Linked DNA regions of Homo sapiens: all the other regions are linked to region 2. The links are contacts of gene promoters, found by promoter capture Hi-C in human tissues and cell types (Jung and others, 2019). All regions are on one chromosome and are shown on one strand. The core of a region is centred on a gene start or on the middle of the fragment in contact, and the rest is flanking DNA. Distances in the headings are between cores, read along the strand shown.

What was found. The method cuts DNA at HindIII sites, captures the fragments that hold promoters and counts their contacts. A contact is called where the count stands out against the background at its distance.
Region 1: a contact is called between a fragment that was not itself captured here and the fragment with the promoter of KCNJ6 in region 2, in 4 of the 25 tissues and cell types used here (H1 embryonic stem cells, IMR-90 fibroblasts, mesendoderm cells and 1 more).
Region 3: a fragment that was not itself captured here is called in contact with the fragment with the promoter of KCNJ6 in region 2 in 2 of the 25 tissues and cell types used here (dorsolateral prefrontal cortex and mesenchymal stem cells).
Region 4: a fragment that was not itself captured here is called in contact with the fragment with the promoter of KCNJ6 in region 2 in 2 of the 25 tissues and cell types used here (stomach and thymus).

What each region holds. Positions count from the first base shown.
Region 1 is chr21:38,150,965-38,153,694 of GRCh38, reverse strand. The region is part of intron 2 of DSCR8 (Down syndrome critical region 8); the gene reads right to left. Among named protein-coding and RNA genes, the nearest start is that of DSCR8, 31 kb to the right of the region's middle. The HindIII fragment of the contact is 5,317 bases long and covers 1-2,730 here.
Region 2 is chr21:37,915,190-37,917,931 of GRCh38, reverse strand. KCNJ6 (potassium inwardly rectifying channel subfamily J member 6) reads left to right here and starts at 1,475. Exons shown (of 4, transcript NM_002240.5): 1 at 1,475-2,048. The HindIII fragment of the contact is 8,322 bases long and covers 1-2,742 here.
Region 3 is chr21:38,111,920-38,114,619 of GRCh38, reverse strand. All of the region lies in intron 2 of DSCR4 (Down syndrome critical region 4), which reads left to right. Among named protein-coding and RNA genes, the nearest start is that of DSCR4, 8.1 kb to the left of the region's middle. The HindIII fragment of the contact is 4,550 bases long and covers 1-2,700 here.
Region 4 is chr21:38,048,457-38,051,156 of GRCh38, reverse strand. No RefSeq gene overlaps it. Among named protein-coding and RNA genes, the nearest start is that of DSCR4, 72 kb to the left of the region's middle. The HindIII fragment of the contact is 5,383 bases long and covers 1-2,700 here.

The DNA of each region.
Region 1 (2,730 bases), core at 24-2,523, 240 kb before region 2:
CTTTCCCATGATTCCTGGACTTGTGTATTCTACTTCCTACTTGACACTTCTGCTTGGATGTCCGATAGACACACAGATTTATGACATAACAATACAAATATTTTATTATCTGTCCCTTAGCCTACAAGATTCTATTGCTCTCCTCTGTCCTGTGTTATATGCTTTCTTTTGCAATGCCAGCTGAAAGGCTGGAAACTTTATCTGTCAGATTCTTCTGCCTTTCAGTTTCTGGTTGCAGCTATATTCTGCTAATGAGGTGCACTAGTGAGAGATTTCAAAGATGAAAGAGCACAGAACATACTCTTCTTCCCCATGCATCAATGTAGGACACGAAAGCTTTGGCAGACAAGAGTTTTTGCGGTGGCTTCTGGGTGATCCATTCCAGTTACTCTTCTCAGTGCTGTAGGGCAGCACTAGTTTTCCTTTACTTTCCTCATCTGAGTGGTAGCAACAACTTCTGAATTCACTGGCCCAAGCAGTGACAGCAGAACTAAATACTACCGGGCACCTTCTCTAACTTGTGTTTCCTCAGCTAATCCAATGCTTTTGAAAGCACTCGATTCCCTTTATTAAACCACTTCATACTTAATACACCTGGAGTGGTTCCTTTTTTCCTGCATGAGTCCTCACTGATACAGCACCTCATCTCCTCAGTTAACACCACCACCATTTACCCAGTCGCTAAAAACAGAAACCTAGCAGTTATCCTTGACTCCTTCTTTCCCTTTACGTCCCACATAAACACAGCGAAAAGTCAGGCTGGATTTTTCTCCAAAATATGTACTGAATCCCATTATTCTACACTACCCCTGCTATAACTACTCTAGTGAAATGCACGGTCTTCTCTCTCCTAAACAGTTTCAGTCATCTACTAACCAGCTTCCACTCTGGTCTCATGACAGTCTGTTATCAATATGTTAGTCAGAGTAATCTTTTTAATATGCAAATAAGTTGCATCATTCTCCAACTCAAAACCATTCAATAGATTACCATCTCAATTCTGATAAGATCCAAACCCCTTACTTTAGCTGACAAGGTCTTGAAACTCCAACCTTTGCCTACCTGAATGGGCTCCGTCCTTCAACCATTACCCTGTTCCAGCTGCACTGGCCAAGTTAATTGTTTGTTTCCACCCACTGTGTATTTAATATTTTCTGTGCCTCCATTGCTTTTTCTCTATTCCTCCCCATGGCTTGTTCTCCCACTGCATTCAGATCTCAAAAATCACCTCCTCAGATCGACCTTTCCAGACCACCCCATCACTTTCACTGCCCCTTCCCCTGCTTTTATTTTTCTTCATAATACATCCCATTATCAAAAATTTTATTTCTTCTTTATTAATTTTTTGAGGGGTTATCTACATTCTCCACTAAAATGTTAGCTTCAAGAGGACTTGGTCAGCTAGTTGGCTGCTGCATCCTATTACCTAGGAACTATGTGCACCTGGCACATAGCGGGAATTCTATAAAAGTGCTTAAATACATATCAGTTGGATTTCTTGCCCCTCTAATCAGAGAGCTTGGATTTTCCAGGAGGAACTGTTGGCTGATTTTCTCAGGATGTCCCCTCCCTTGACCAGCCACAATGATAATATCCTGGGGAAATCAAAAGGAAAGCTTGAGAACCCCGCAGGAGCACCTGTCAAGGGCTGAAACAGGATGGCACAAAGGCTCCTGAAAATGTGGCACGGTTAGCTCACAACTCCTCATGCCAATAATGGCGCACAAGGCACAGAGAAACCAAAGTGATGGAGTGGGATTGATTTTTGGTAAAGTGGTTTATTTTTGATTTTTGAAAGCCCAAGATAATTTGTGATGCAGACATGTCTCCAAAATGTGGTTGGGCTTAGGCTGATGAAAACTTGAGTTACATGCCTCCTAGTCAGAAAATAGGTGAACAAGAAGGTAGCAGAGTATTAGAAAACCTGGCTGAGTTCACTCATCTTCTGTGAATAACTCACAAAATTGATTATTCCAAGGTAGACAAATGAGAGTTGTATGCACAAATGTGCTTTGGCTGAATGTGAAAGTTTTAGAAGGATTAATTACTTAGTTAATCACACATTTTCTAAGTCATTTTCTCTTCCTCCTCTTCCTCCATCTCCTTTCTTCCTTATTCACTTCCATGATTCTTTATTCCTGGAAGCATGTTTTATGCATTATCTCATTTAATCCTTATAACAAACCTCTGAGCTATGGTCTCTGTTTTACAGAAGAGAAACCCAACCCTTCAAGAGTCATCTAGAGGGAATGTGGCACACCTCGACTTCACTCCCTGGTTTCTCCAACTGTAACTCTGCTGCTTCCCCACTTTATGTATCTCTTGGGTTAACTTTTCTTTTCATCACTTATGGATGGTCACTTGTCCCTACTCTTTAAATCCTTTTGTCAACAACAACAAAAGATTCTTAAAGATTTTGAAAGTGCAAAGGAACCTAGAAACAGGATCCAGTGTCATTCTTTCATTTTACAACTCAGGAGACTGAGGCTTAGAGGGGAACAATTGTTTGTTGAAAGTCACATACTGAGTAAGTACTGAGCTATGTCTCCTGACTCCTAATACAGCATTCCTTCTTCCTATCAATAGTCAAGTACTTTTCCTCTGCATAATTGATTTCATACTATTCAAATTTCATATGAAGATGCACTAATGAGAAATGGCTTAAAATTAAAACTTGGGTTGCATTAAATATCATATTTACAAATAATAAAGGCCATCCTCCTCCCACTA
Region 2 (2,742 bases), core at 226-2,725:
GGGATTATTTGGTTCAGTTGTTCTTTGTTTATTTGTAACACTATCACTAGATCCAGCAGGCATTGTGGAGCACGTATTACACATACTACAGATATTACACATACTCATATCTTCTGTATATGGGATATATGACTCAGAAGTAATAGCAAGTCAGATTACAACCTCTTAGGGAAAATCAACAGCAAATACAAGCTCACAGGCCGTGTGTACGGTTGACTTTTACATGACTTTGGATGCAAATTGACACAAACACCTCTCCATATTACAGTCATTTTTAGAGGGCAGACAGCATTCTTGAGGGGACCTGAATTGCTAGGTAATTAAAATGTATGTATGTAGAATAAAATAATCTTGGAAATAAGAGGTTTCCGTAAGCCTTCTCTCTAAAATAAGGTCACCTTCTTTGAGGTAGAGATTCTGTGCCTTGTGGAAGGAAAGCCACTTCATAAAGCAGCACAAGAATAGCCAGTTATTGAAAGGGCCATTATAAAATTACTAGCCAATGGTATTCGCTACTCTTACAATTTGTCAATCCATTCATCCCTAGGAAAAAGACAGCATAAAAGAGAGTTCTGTTCATAGGTAGAAGCAATTTATGGGAAGACTTTGGAAATGTAGAACCATTGTTTTTGATGACCATAAGAAAAAGAGGGGGTGCAAGAGGGGAGCACTATGAGGGGCCCCTGGAATAACAGCACAAAGCAAGTTAGATTCAAAGAGTGGAGTAGACCTTTGTCTAAGGGGCTTATCCTGACAAATTCAACTTTGAAGGCAGCCTGGGTCATTCTTGGAAAAGGCCATTCTTTGTCTCCAGTGACCCCAGAGACATCATATAAGGATGGGGTGATGATGCAGCAGCCGGGACCAGGTCCCAGTTGCAGTGGACAGGACAGAAGGGACTGAATGGGGCAGCAGGCTGGGGCGCCACCAGGTGCAAGCAAAGCTCAGGGATAGGGCCCCTCCCCTCCGTCCCGGCCGCTCGCTGCGCCCCCTCTGGGCGGTGCAGGCTCCGGCTCCCGCGCCGGGGCTGCCTCTCACGGATTTCAGCCCGGTGGGAGGCAGTGCCCAGAGCCTCTTTTTCCTTATCTCACAAAACCCTAAAAGCCGAACCCCTACAACCAGCAGACAAAACTGCTCCCCGAGCTTCGGCTCTTTCCTGCTTTCCAGGCGTTTCTCCGGGAATAACTTACTTAGTGGCACTGGGAGAAAGGTTGGGACTGGGGGGTCGGGGACCGAAACCCAAAAGATTCCCCCAGCATGGAGCACCCACGTTTCCAGTGGCGGGGGATGCACGTTGGTTTGTGCCCAGCCCGCCCCCACCAAGCCCGGTCCTCGACGCGCTGACACGCTAGCTGGCATGGGCGGCGGGGTGGGCGTCTCTGGGTCTGTGGCTCTGTCCTGCTCGCCCCCGCCCCTTCCTCCCGGACCGCGCCGGCGCTGTGCGGCTTTTTCCCCAGCACGCGGCGCTGCACTCGCTTTTATCTCGGAGCCGCGTCGCTTCGTGCGCTGCCAGCGGGGCTCAGCCAGTCGGCTGGAATTGAGTAGCATTCATTGAATCTGCGGATTTCATGACGTCTCTCTGCGTGGTCCACCACTTTTCTCCTAACCGGGGATTTTTTTTTTCTTCTGCCACTCTTATCTTTCCCCACTTCATTCCACCCAGTCTCCCTCCCCCGTCCCTGCCCAAACGCGCGCCCCTCCGCCCCTCCCTTGGCCCCAGCGCCCAGCCCTGCTCTCCGCGCTCGGCCAGAGGGAGCCAGTCCGGAGACGGCCGCACCTGGCTGGAGAGGCTGGGCGGGCGGAGGGGTGGAGACCCGCGGACGCCGGGAAGCCGGACCTGGAGCCGGAGCAGCCGCGAGCAGAATGGAGTCTCCTAACAGCCTCTCGGTGCTGATGTGAAATTTGACCATCTGATTCCAGTTTTTTTCTTTTCCTTTTCTTTTTTGCATTTCCTTCCCTCGCCATCCGTCGTGTAGTGAATTGTTCAGTCTTGCTCCGTTTCAAGAGAGGAGATCATGATTGAGTGAAGCCACCCCGTCCGCAGCCAGGTAAGCGGTGCGCTGAGCTGCTCGCAGGCGAGGAGCTGGCGTCCACCTGGGCGAGGCGTTCCGTGCTCTCGGGTCCCCGCGTCCCCTTCCCCAGCTCCGCCGTCGCCGCAGGCATCTCCACTCTCATGAGAAACATTGTGCCCAAGTCAGCCGAAAGGCGAGGGAGAAGCCGGTTACATAACAGAAGGGGAATCTGTTTCATACGGTTTTCATTAGCGACTGAAACTCGCACGGGGGGCGGGGGAAGGAGGGGTCTGCATCCCTGGGCTCGCAGAAACCCAGTCAGTTATTGCAGACATCATTTCAACATCCGCTGGCAAAGACTTAAATGCACTGATTAACTGACAGGTGCGGCTTGTGATGTAGTCATTTACAGTTGGGAAAAGCCTATTGTCTTTGTGGAAGGCAGTCTTCTTGTTCTGCTTTGCATGGAGAGGAGAGGAGACAACACGAAAGGGAGGAAAAGTGAGGGTTGGGGAGAAACATGCGGAGAATGGGAAACAGAATACTGTAACTCCTAACTGTTCTCTATCCTTAAAACCGAAGATGTGCTAGCATGACTAAAAACAGTGAATAGGAAGATCTTCCTAGGAGTAAACTGAATTATTTTGTAATTGGAAGGGAAGAAAAAACACTTTAGATAAAATGAGATGTGTGTGGCATTTAGAGGACTGGGTGGCTGTGGATATTTGCT
Region 3 (2,700 bases), core at 77-2,576, 200 kb before region 2:
TTTAACCAGTAAATTAAAGAGACAAAGGACTGAAGAGGAGAAGTAGAAGTATAAATGCAGCTGTCCTAGTAAAGGAAGGAACCATGTAAGGGAGAGGAGAGCAAACTTAGAAAGAGTTACACAACCTCAGATATAAGGAATCTCAAGCCGTTTAGAAGAATTATGACCAAAGAGGTCAACCTATAAAATACTACTGGGGGCAGAGGTCCCATTTGGAAGCCAGTAGGATTCCTGATCTGGAAGTTTATAAAGTGGCCATGCTGTATTACACAAGAAAATTCGATGTTTCCTTTTGAGAGTCTGGGAGTCAAGTTTATCCCAATGTTTTAGAATGCAGCCCATCGGTGAGTCTGAGAGAATGGAAGGGCTTTGTCCCATGGGGGGATTGGAAAATAATGTCTACTGGGGACACAAACCACAATTTCTCTTGGGGCCTCCAGCCAAGGAAAGGGGGTTCCACTTATGTCCACTGAGGAGCCTTGAGAGGCACTTTCCAAAGGGGCATCCCACCTATTAGAAAGGACCTCCCAGCATGAGAGCCTTACACTGGATGGATGAACACAGGGTGAGCAGCCCCAGGTCAGTCCACGTATGAATTATACTGGGTGCTGAATCCAGGTATAAGGGGCAAAGGTTGAGGGAAGGCTCACTGTTCTGGTGCTATTTGGGATCATGTTGCTTAAAATGTCCAGAAAAGGATGGCTGGCTTTCTTCACAGGAGAAATTTAGAGTGAGAAGGACGGGGTCTGAGTTCCCCAAAATGTGTGTGCGTTTGCCCTGGTCAAGCTGCCGCTGCCTATTGTGCTGCATGTAGGGACTGGGGACTTTTGACCAGAAGGGTTAGGAGAGAGCCATCCTCCCTTCCAAGCAAGGCAGCCAAACCTGGTTCACTCCTTGGCCTTTAGGCCACACCAGGGAATGGCCCTGGCCAGTGGCCATCAGCTGCTAGAGGGATACTAGAGTTTGTCCACCAGAAGACGGGAAAGGAAAGTAAACTCTAAACTCTCACTCGATCGGGCAGTGACGGTCAAACTTCTTTCCACTGGGACCTTCTGATCCACCAGGGAGTAGCTGCAGTGGGGGGCCATCAGATGTCTCCAGGCTTGGATGCTGTCCACTAAGAGGTTGGAGTTGGAGAAGAGAAAAAACAGTGAACAGGGGAGAGGTCTCCATATGGACCACCAAAATGCTGCTGGTGTGACTGGCTGGGTCCAGCATTGCAGGCAGTGAAAGAATTTACCAAGACAGTCATGGATAAAGAAAGGCAGATTTATTGTAGAAAGTACGAAGATACACTGCAAGAGAACAATGAGGTGCACAGCAGAGAGGAGGTTGTCTCGAAGAGTCAGGGGCTGGAGGGAAGTTTTATAGGCTTGTGCTGGAGAGGGTACGTGCTGATAAGGTCATGCTGCTGGGTCTATGTGCAAAACAAGGTATTTGGGAACAGGGTGTTGTGCAAGTGGGTTGTTGTTGGTTAACCAGTTCTCAGAACGATGGCTTGTCAGCCATTTCTTAGAATGATGGCTCTCCCCCATCCTTGCTCCTGTTCCTGCCAGTTAGGGCTCCTTTTTTTTTTTTTCGTTTTGAGACGGAGTCTTGCTCTCACTGCCCAGGCTGGAGGGCAGTGGCGCGATCTCGACCCACTGCAAGCTCCGCCTCCCGGGTTCACGCCATTCTCCTGCCTCAGCCTCCCGAGTAGCTGGGACTACAGGTGCCTGCCACCACGCCTGGCTATTTTTTTTTTTTTTGTATTTTTAGTAGAGACGGGGTTTCACCGTGTTAGCCAGGATGGTCTCGATCTCCTGACCTCATGATCCGCTAGCCTCAGCCTCCCATAGTGCTGGGATTACAGGCGTGAGCCACCGCGCCCAGCCCCCTTTCTTATATCTATCAACTTATGAGGACTACATGCTCTTCTTGCCTAGGTATGAAACCTATAGTAGTAGTGGAGTTCACAATAATAGCTTCTTCACCATAGCCTCCACACTGGGTCCCAGCACTAGCTCCTCCCTTTTTTCCTTTTGACCTGGGTGATGACAGCTTATCATGGTTGCAAGCATTATCCCTTATATATTTCCTTAACCTTACCAAGCCCATTGTAAGTTGTCTTTTCCTTACAGTTTCTATTAAAAATCCTTGTGGGGACCATGACTGATTCAGAGCATCTATTTGTTTTTAATTAAAAATATATCTTGTAAAATGCTGAGAAGGTAAAATAGGAGAATATTTCAATGACCTTGAATTTGGCAATGACTTCTTAAATCCAAAAGCACAATCCATAAAAAAATTGATAAGTTGGACTTTGTTAAAATTTCAAACTTCTGTTCTGTAAATGACACTGTTCAGAGAATGAAAAAATAAGCCATAGACTGGGAGGATTTTGTGAAACACATGTCAGATGCAGGCTAGTATTTAAGATATACAAAGAACTCTTAAAACTCAATAGTAAGAAACAAACAGTCCAATTAAAAAATAGGCAAAAGATCTCAACAGATACCTTACCAAAGAAGATATACAGATGGAAAATAAGCTTGTGGAAAGATGCTCAACATCATTAGAGACTTTCAAATTAAAACGAGATATTACTACACACCCATTAGAATGACCAAAATCCCAAACATAAACACCACCAAATGCTGATGAGAATGTTGTGCAGCAGATCCTCTTACTCATTGCTAGTGGGAATGCAAAATGGTATGG
Region 4 (2,700 bases), core at 56-2,555, 130 kb before region 2:
CACGAGGACTGACGCCATGGTCAATCTCAGCCAGGGAAAAGCGGATGGAAAGTCACCCTTTACCAATGGCCACAAGTATAACTGGACCCCAGAAGTCAGGGGGCATTTCAAGCAAAGTGATTTAAAGCATTTCAAGCAAGTAATTGACAGGTGCACAGAGCAGGCTTAAATTTGGTTTTTACCTGATCAAAATTCAATTTACTGTCACCAGAGGCAGGCTATAAAACAGGCAATGTCACCAATAGCTACGGAAAGTTGGCAATACTCAAAGTCTTGGCATTGGATTTACTTTTTCAAATAGCAGAAGTAATGCATAATTGTTGGAGTAACTAGAGCAATGCAAAGATTTTTTTTTAAGCGAATCTTCTTCCCCAGACTGCTCTCCAGCTTCACCATCCTGGGGGCCTAATGTTAATAGCTCATTCTTCAGCCACAGTTTTTCCTTTTCCTATAAATCATTTACAAGTATTTATACACATTTTCAGGATTTTTGTTTGTCTTTCTCAAACTGGTTTTCAATGAATATATCAAAAACTCTTAATTGGTAAGTGAATATAGATCTATATTTTATCTCCTCACTTATGCATCTGCATACACATACGTAATTCTATATGAAGGTAGTCATACTGTATGTGCTTAGTATTTTCAGTGTACACTTTACATTTTTTGCTTGCCTCTCCCACCCCGTCATATCTCCCTATGTGTTTTTCTCCATGTTCATTTAATCATATACAAACACGTACACAGTTGTTTCATGGTCTTTGTTTTGCTTTGAATGCAATCACATTGTACACACACCCACGAACCTTGCTTTTCTCATTCAGCAATGACACTTGGAGTTGGTTTCCTGAAAGTCAACTGCCATTGCCCTTACTGGTTTTTTAATAGTTTATAACTGCATACGATTTCACATTGTGCTTATACCCATAGCTTATTCTGCCATTTCTTGCTTAATGGGCATTCACTTGATCTTCATGTCTTGAGACAAAGTTACATTAACTATCTGTGTACTTCTGTCCCTACGTAGTGAGCTTTTGTCTCTGGGATAGTTTCCTAATACTGGGCTTGGTGATTAAAGAGCATATGGTTTTTAATTTTAATAGATCTCACCAGATCTTGATCCAAAGAGAATGGACCAACTCATATTTCCATTGGCTATGTCAAGTGTACCCACTTCACATTCTCAACCATATAGGGGCTCTTCATTTCTATTGTTGGGCAATCTAAAGTTGTGTCTTATTATTTTAACTGCTAGTGAATTTGAGTATTTTTACCCTTATATTTGATGCTTCTTTGAGTTGGATTTTCTGTAAACTTCTTATTCATATTATTTGCCCAATTTTCTATTTCATTATTTTCTTATTAATCTAAGGCTTTTTTGAGTATATATTTTTCCAAATCCATAGCTCCTTTAATCTGATTATAATAGATATCATTATAAAGTTTTTAATTTTTTATGATATCAAATATATGTTAAATATGTATGTATGGTTTTTTGTTGTGTTTTGTTTTGTTTTTTGAGACGGAGTCTCACTCTGTAGCCCAGGCTGGAGTCCAGCGGCGTGATCTCGGCTCACTGATCTCGGCTCACTGCGAGCTCCACCTCCCAGGTTCCCGGTTCAAGTAATTCTCCTGCTTCAGCCTCCCAAGTGGGTGGGATTACAGGCCCATGCCACCACGCCTAGCTAATTTTTGTATTTTTAGTAGAGACAGGGTTTCACCATGTTTGCCAGGCTGTTTTGAACTCCTGACCTCGTGATCTTCCCACCTTGGGCTCCCAAAGTGCTGGGATTACAGGCGTGAGCCGCCGCACCTGGCCACATATATGTTTTCATACATGTGTGTATATACATATAATAAATACATATACGTGTATATATCTACATAAATCCAGTCTGGATATTTTAACTCACTTAAAATCTCCTGAATTCCTAGATTGTATTTTTAGTCTCCTAGATTTTCTTCTAATGTTTTTATTTCTACAATACTTACATTTTAATTTTTAAAGCATCAGTTCAATCATCATTGCCAAGTTTAAAAGTTACTCCAAAATGCAGAGGATTAAAATGGTGGCCATTTTATTTTTCCTGTGATTTTGTAGTTCAGGAACTCAGGAAAGACTCAGCTAGGCAGTTCTGGTTTGGAGTCTTTTGTATGGAAACAGTCAGTTGCCAGTGGGGCCTGAAAGTTCAACTAAGCTGGATGCTCAAGGTAGCTCTTACATGTGGCTGCAGCCAGGTCAGCTGGGCTGTTAGCCAGAACACCCACGTGTAACTTCTTTAGCAAGTCAATCTCAGCATGGCCTTTTCTTACCCACCTCTGAAGTTATGCAGCATTATTTCAGAAGTTTAGGTTTCCAGAAGTACCCTGCGGCATTCAAACAATTTCCCTGGAACACACCATTATTTATGCCATGGAGAGAAGGGCAGAGAAGTGTGGGCCAATCCTTTTCCACCTCACCTAAATCTCTTGCTGGAATAATACTATTGATGATTATTCTTCACGTGTTGAAGAAATAACTACTATTTTCCACCCAACATATTGCCATGATGTCAGAAATAATGGACAGCTATGGCATCCATTCTTATGTCCACATGATGCTGGCACAGTGACACAGTGAACAGGGATGGATTAGCAGGAATACTGCCAGAAGTGTCCGTGTTTAACAATGAGCTCTCTTTTCAGAGAAATTATCTCAGT